Regions from separate parts of the Homo sapiens genome. Here region 1 is linked to region 2. The links are contacts of gene promoters, found by promoter capture Hi-C in blood cells and fetal thymus (Javierre and others, 2016). All regions are on one chromosome and are shown on one strand. The core of a region is centred on a gene start or on the middle of the fragment in contact, and the rest is flanking DNA. Distances in the headings are between cores, read along the strand shown.

Region 1 (3,382 bases), core at 168-2,667, 130 kb before region 2:
AGGGCAGTCACCCCTGTTCCCCCTTGGTTGTGGGCAGGAGGGGAGACTTAATTCCATGCACTTCTGGCACCATGTGGACACTGGCTGGCAAAGTGGGTTCTGGTCCTTTGGGGAAAGAATCGCAGGTGCTGGCTGCTGGGAGTCAAAGTGCACCATGGATTGATGCACACAACAGTGGGAGGGTTCTGGGGGAATAGCATCTTATTTGCTGCATCTTTATTACTAGCTGTGTGGACAGCTGTGTAAACTTTGGTGCTCGGTTTTGGATTTTGGGACTCTGTTTTCTCCTCTGTAAATGGAAAATAATACACACACACACACACACACACACGCACAAACACACACACACCCCTGCATATGTTATACTACTATAGATGGAGTTAGCAGATGAGAGAGAGAGAGAGAGAGAGGGAGAGAGAGAGAGAGAGAGAATGACTGTATTGGGGTGGTGAGGGGAAAGCTTGAGTAGTTAGGAAGAACATGAAGGAACAAAAAGAACAAAAGAAAACGTTGACAAACAGAGAGAAGAAGCATTCATGTATTCACTCAATAAATATTCATTGAGGGCCCAGTATGTGCCATGCATTTTCCAGAAGCAAAGGGGGAAGAAAATTTTAAGACCAGGAAATTACTGTCAAGCGATGGGATCAAAATTCCTACTTTTCCTTCATCTTGGACACACATTCACTGGAGTTCCTTCCCCCTCTTCTGAGGTTACACGTTGTCCTTCTCAGCCTACCCTCTAAGCTTGGCAGGAGATGCACAGGTAACTTTAAGTTTCTATCCTCTGGCCTTTCATCCTGCCCCCTCCAGTCATCTCAAATATTGAGAACCGACTCAGCATCTACTGTGTACAGAGCAGACACCTCAGGGCTTCATGGACCACTGGGGAAGACACGGCCACACCCAACTGTGGCTGTGTGATGGGGCACATAAGAAACCTCCAGGTTCATTCCCAAAGCGGATCCCAGGCAGACACAGGTCTTGTGTGTGGAGCTGGGGAAAGCTTGACAAAAAAAGAGGGACCTCGTTAAGAATCTAAAATTAGTTTTCTAGGGGGAAAGTGAGAAGGTATTCCAGCCTAATTGGTTAAGTAGCTACAACAAATACAGCTAGCACTCAATAAGGCTTGCTGCATTAGATAATTTTTAATTGAAAATTTCAAAACTGGATATATTGGAGAACGGATCCAGGAGGAGAAGTAAGATCTGTTTTCAGTGAAAATATTTTATGCTCACAAGAAAGTGTCTCACGTGAGTGATCATCCCTTCTTGCAATTACTGAACAGTCCAAATAAGGTTCTCAAGTTGAATACCATGGGTATCATCTTGGGGTTTGGACTCCTTTGGATTTCACGTTAGATTATTAAGATGGATAAACATTGACAGTGGACTAAGAGACTAAGAGAAATAACATCTCTGTGCTCTAACCTTTACATGCATTTTATATTTGATTCTCACAACCCTAATAATTCACATTTGTAAACAAGGAAATGCGTCCAAAGTCACTGAGCTACTAAGTAGCCAAGATTGGACTAAACCCAGATCAGATCCATCTCTCACCAAAAGCCATCCTCTTAACCACTGTCATTAGAAGTGTTAGATCCATAGTTGGTATTAGACCACAAAGGTTACCCAGGATATAAAACGTGTCCATTCAATCAACAAGTAAATATTGAACATCTGTTATGTGCCCATGACTCTGCTTAATACAGAGCTTGGCAATTGATTGGGTGTAGAAGATGCTTATGAGGGATGATGAAATAAGAGTACCATACACAGGGCTAGGGATGTTTGCAGAGGGTGATGATTTGAGACATGCCATGTGCTAAGCTTGACTTCAGAACTGAGTCTGAGAGCAGTGAAGGGTAGTTCAAGTGAAGTGTCACTGGAAATTGGAAATAATGAAATAGAACTTGGTTAGATTTGTAGATAGATGCTGGAGAAGCATGAGCAACAAAGTGATGGTGGATGTTGAAAGGATGGCCCTTAGTGAGTCTATAATTCAGTCTACCAGATGATTTTTACATGAACAAATGTCCCCACTTATCATGCGGTTTAAGTTTTACCTTTACCTACTACAGGGAAGCATAAAAAAGGTTTTGATAACCCGGGTAATTTTGTGAAAGTTTGAACAATGATTGTATCAGGCATTATAGATGGAGTGTTTTGACTGGGGAGTATTCTGACTGCATGGAAATCCATGCCAACTATACTGCAAGCGGCTTGAAGGCAGGAACCAGGTCTCTTTTTATGACCATGTGCCTCTTCTCAGTCTCTCAGCACGTTAGGCCTAACACAGTGTTAATGAGCGAATGCACAGTGAGTGAACCAACCATGTGGGTGAAACGTCCTCTCCTTTTCATGGTCGTTAGTTGGACACAATAGGATTGTCCCAATCTGCCCACTCACTTAGGTACTTACCTTTGCTGTTCTTTTTGCTGGGGTCATTTGCATAAAAAGGGCAGAGTGACATGGCTGAGCTGTTGGAAGCTCCATTGTTCTGTAGTGACTTAATTGTTGGCTTGCCCTGGACAAGGCTTTATGCTGATTTGGTTCTAAGCGTGCTCCTGCTTACCCAGGATGTGGCACAAATAGAACATCCACTGGCTTCCACCAGTCTGCTGAAACTGCTCTCTAAGTGTCACTGGTGTCCTTCTAATCACCAGAGCTTGACTTCTGCTCCAGCACTGCCGACCATACTTTCTTTCTTTTCATGGCCTCGTTAGCCTTGCAGGAACTGCATTTCCATGCTTCTTTGTCCTTTGACTCTTCCGGGTTCTTCCTACACTTCCTCCAAGGTAATCTCTGACTCTGTCTTTACTCCACCTTCTTATATGGCTGCATTCTCTACCCAGCAGCAAAGTCATACCTGCTCCTGTGGTATCAATTATCTCCTCTGAGAGAGGACTGGCAAATCGTGGTTTTGTATACCTGACATTCTTCTGAGCTCCTGACTCATATTTCCAGAATTTTAGCCTGAAACTTTAAATTTGGCATGTTTTAAAAAAAATTTATCATCTCCTCTTGTGATCCTTTTCCCTTTCTTTTCTTTTCTTTTTTTTTTTTTTAATTTTTTATGCACAGAGTCTCGCTCTGTCACCCAGGCTGGAGTGCAGTGGTGCGATCTTGGTTCACTGCAATCTCTGCCTTCCAGGTTCAAGCAATTCTCCTTGCCTCAGCCTCCCGAGTAGCTGGGATTACAGGGGCCCACAACCATGCCTAGCCAATTTTTGTATTTTTTAGTAGAGAGGGGGTTACGCCATTTTGACCAGGCTGGGCTTGAACCCCTGACCTCAAGTGATCTTCCCGCCTCAGCCTCCCAAAGCGCTGGGATTACAGGCATGAGTCACCACGCCCAGCCTCCCACAGTGCTAGGATGA
Region 2 (3,358 bases), core at 483-2,982:
ACAGGGTCTCCCTGTGTCACCAAGGCTGGAGTGCAGTGGCGCCATCTCAGCTCACTGCAGCCTTGATCTCCCAAGCTCAAGTGATCCTCCCACCTCAGCCTCCCAAGTAGCTGGGACTAAAGGTGCGTGCCACTAGGCCTGGCTAATATTTTGTATTTTTTGTAGAGATGGGGTTTCACCATGTTGCCCAGGATGGTCTCAAACACCTGGGCTTAAGCGATTTGTCTACCTCAGCCTCTCAAAGTGCTGGGACTACAGGCATGAGCCACTGCGAATGGCCTATCTTTCAAAACATTATGAATGCTTCCTTCCCTCTTTTGGAAATTCCACCTCTTTAAACATGACATGTAACAGTTTGCTACTCTCTAGAAGTAGTGCTTAGTGACAGGCATCACAGAGTACAGAGTAGTAATAAAGAGCCAGGGTTCTGGAGCCAGACTGCCTGAATTCCCGTCCTGTCTACACTACTTATTAGCTGTGTAACTTTGGGTAAATTACTTATTTCTGTTTCAGTTGCCTTAGCTGTAAGAAGAGAGTTACTGCCTGTAGTCACCTCAAAGTGTCATTATGTGAATTGCATAGGTTAATATACGCAAACCACTTCAATCATTGTCTAGTACTATAAATATTTGCCATTTTCTTGATACTGTTCCCCGTTTCAATAGCTTTCCATTGCTCACAAAATAAAGGAAAATATCTTTAATCTGGCCTCAAATTCCCTGCACGTTGTGACCATTGCCTACTCTGCAACCCCATTTCTTAGTACTTGCCTTCCAGACATACTGAATTGTCTCTAATTCTTGGAAATTTCCATGGTTTTCTTTTTCTTTCTTGCCTCTCAGACTTCTGAACTCAGTTTCTCCTAGTTTAGGACGCTGTGCCTTCCACCCTCCCAGTAACCTAGAGACTACCCTGCGAGACTCACCCTCTTCTCCCTGGAAGAAGAGGGAGTTCTGCCAGCAGACTGTCTTTGGACTTGGACTGAGTACTTCTCTGGGTCTCCAGCCTACTGGCCCACCCTGCAGATTTTAGACTTGCATCTCCACAGTCGTGTGATCCAGTTTTAAAAATACCCCCTCTCTCCATACACATATATACACATATACATCTTGTTGATTCTGTTTCTCTGAAGAACTCTACTAAAAGAAGTATTATCAAAATTAAAAAGGAGCTTGAACTCATGTAGCCTAATGCTCTTCTTTTTAAAGATGAGGAAAAGAGATATTCAGAGAAAGAAGTGAATTTACCTAAATTACCCAGCTAAGGAGTTACACTTCCCATATATCATATTTATTGCATATATAAGTAAGCAACAACTTCTCGAGAAGCTCGGTGAGTCCCCAAGGTCCCCAGCGCTTCTACCCTCACTGCACTGGGTAAGCTGTACCCTGACTGCTTCTGTGTACTCAAGCTCCCATCCGCCCGCGGGCCTCCTGAGAGAGTCGGCCTAATTCGTAAGCTGGTTCCCAGTAAACAGTGCAGAGCAGGCGCTAAGTGAATGAATGAGCACGAGAGCTGGAAGCCCTCTGAGGCCTCTCTGGTGTCCCTTGTCCGCCCGCCGCCTCGGCCCCGGCCAGGTTGGAAGGACCGGGTGCCCCTACCGCCCGGAGTGGCGCTCTCAGCGTCCCCGCACCTTCATGCGCAGTAGATTCTTGGACAACCTTGTCTTTCGCTCGGCCGCCATGGTAGCTTCCGCCCAGCGCCGCACTCCGGCCGCGAGCCTCACCGCACATGCGCGGAGCCGCGTGCGCAGCTGCGTCCCTCGCGTAGTGCGCGCCGCCCCGCCCCGCCCCTCCCCTGTGTCTTGCGCGCGGGCGCGGCCACTCAGCGGGCGCTCTGCTGACTGAGAGGCTCGGGTAAGCTCGCGGGGTGGCGGGCGCGGGGATGAGCGCGGCAGACCGCAAAAAAGCCGAAGTCAGAGGACGACCCAGAACTTGGCTTCCCCGAGCCGCGGGTCGCCTTCCCGGGACGTCGGCCTGGCCCCCTCGGAGGCCCATCCTCCCTCGGGGACTCCCTTCCTCAGGGACCCCCTCCACACTCAGTAGTCCTCGCCAGCCTCAGAGAGGTTTCCGCCACGCCTGCCACCCGCCTGGGCCGTGTTACCCACGTGTTTTGTCTTCATAACGTGGGTGGCGGGCTCCCTTTGTTCTGGGTCGCTTTGCAGGGTCCAGGTCGTTTTCTCTTCACCAGGACCCCACGAGTTGCTGCTTTCCTCACAGCAGCCCGGAGTCCCGGGGGAGCGCGGCGGGGGCCGCCCCAGGCAGGCTGGCTTCATTCCCAGGCTGCTGCCGATGCGTGTCTGGCCGAGTGATCTCTGCTAAACAGAAGAATCTCAAGAAATGGCAAGGGATGGAGGCAGGGATGGGTGCCAAAGACACATGAATGAGAACAAAGCCTGGTTTTGATCCAAAGAATTGAAAAGACCATAGCGAGGGGCAACATAGGGAGACCCCACCTCTACAAAAAAAAAAAAAAAAAAAAAAAAAAAAAAAATATATATATATATATATATATATATACACAAAAAATATACAAAATATACATACAAAAAATATATACAAAATATACAAAAAATGTACAAAAGATACAACAAAAATAGCTGGGTGTGGTGGCACGGATCTGTGGTCTCCACTACTTGGGAGGCTGAGGCTGGAGAATCACTGGAACCCGGGACGTCGAGGCTGCAGTGAGCTGACATCCCGCCACTGGACTCCAGTCTGGGCTACAGAGTGAGGCTTTGTCTCAAAAACAAAACAACAAAACAAAAAAGAATTTAAAAAACCACTGAAAATAGGGTAGCGTTCCTACCCTGGTGTTTAATGCTCTGGGTACCACCTAAACACGTTTTCGAAAACCATTCCCAGGTCCGACGCTTTGGAACACCCTCAAGCTAATAGCATCTCGGCTGATACCATGAGTTCTACGTCAGATTGTTGACCTGGTCACCTTAGGGCTAATTAGTTCACTTAATCCCCATAAGAACCGGAAAGAAGGTATTGTCATCGTGTTGTTAAGGATTCTGAGACACAGAGTGGGTAACGCACTTGGTGTTCACACAGCTAATCCATGTTAGAGCTGAAATTCAAACACCGATTTGGATGTTAAAAGCCCTTTAGGTTTTCCCAGGGGTAAATAAAATCATTGTAATGTACCAAGTGGCTACAGAATCTCATTCACTTGTGACTGTGTGTGAGATGCCGGGGGTATAATAGCGTGTAAAAACACATATCCCCACCTTTCCTGAAGCTGATATTCTGGACGTAAGTAAGTGGCGACTGCTATGAAAGAGAGAAAACAGTGATGTGACAGAGTAACGCTTAGGGTTACTTTAGACCAGGTGGTTTGGAACGGCCCTTGT

Evidence for each region. The method cuts DNA at HindIII sites, captures the fragments that hold promoters and counts their contacts. A CHiCAGO score of 5 or more calls a contact.
Region 1: a contact is called between a fragment that was not itself captured here and the fragment with the promoter of MPHOSPH6 in region 2, in 4 of 17 cell types (M2 macrophages, monocytes, M1 macrophages and 1 more). The highest score is 7.0, in M2 macrophages.

What each region holds. Positions count from the first base shown.
Region 1 is chr16:82,038,942-82,042,323 of GRCh38, forward strand. The region is part of intron 1 of HSD17B2 (hydroxysteroid 17-beta dehydrogenase 2); the gene reads left to right. Among named protein-coding and RNA genes, the nearest start is that of HSD17B2, 5.4 kb to the left of the region's middle. The HindIII fragment of the contact is 826 bases long and covers 1,005-1,830 here.
Region 2 is chr16:82,168,492-82,171,849 of GRCh38, forward strand. MPHOSPH6 (M-phase phosphoprotein 6) reads right to left here and starts at 1,733. Exons shown (of 5, transcript NM_005792.2): 1 at 1,634-1,733. The coding sequence starts at 1,684. RefSeq lists an enhancer at 1,590-1,734, a cis regulatory region at 1,662 and a silencer at 1,709-1,868. The HindIII fragment of the contact is 21,548 bases long and covers 1-3,358 here.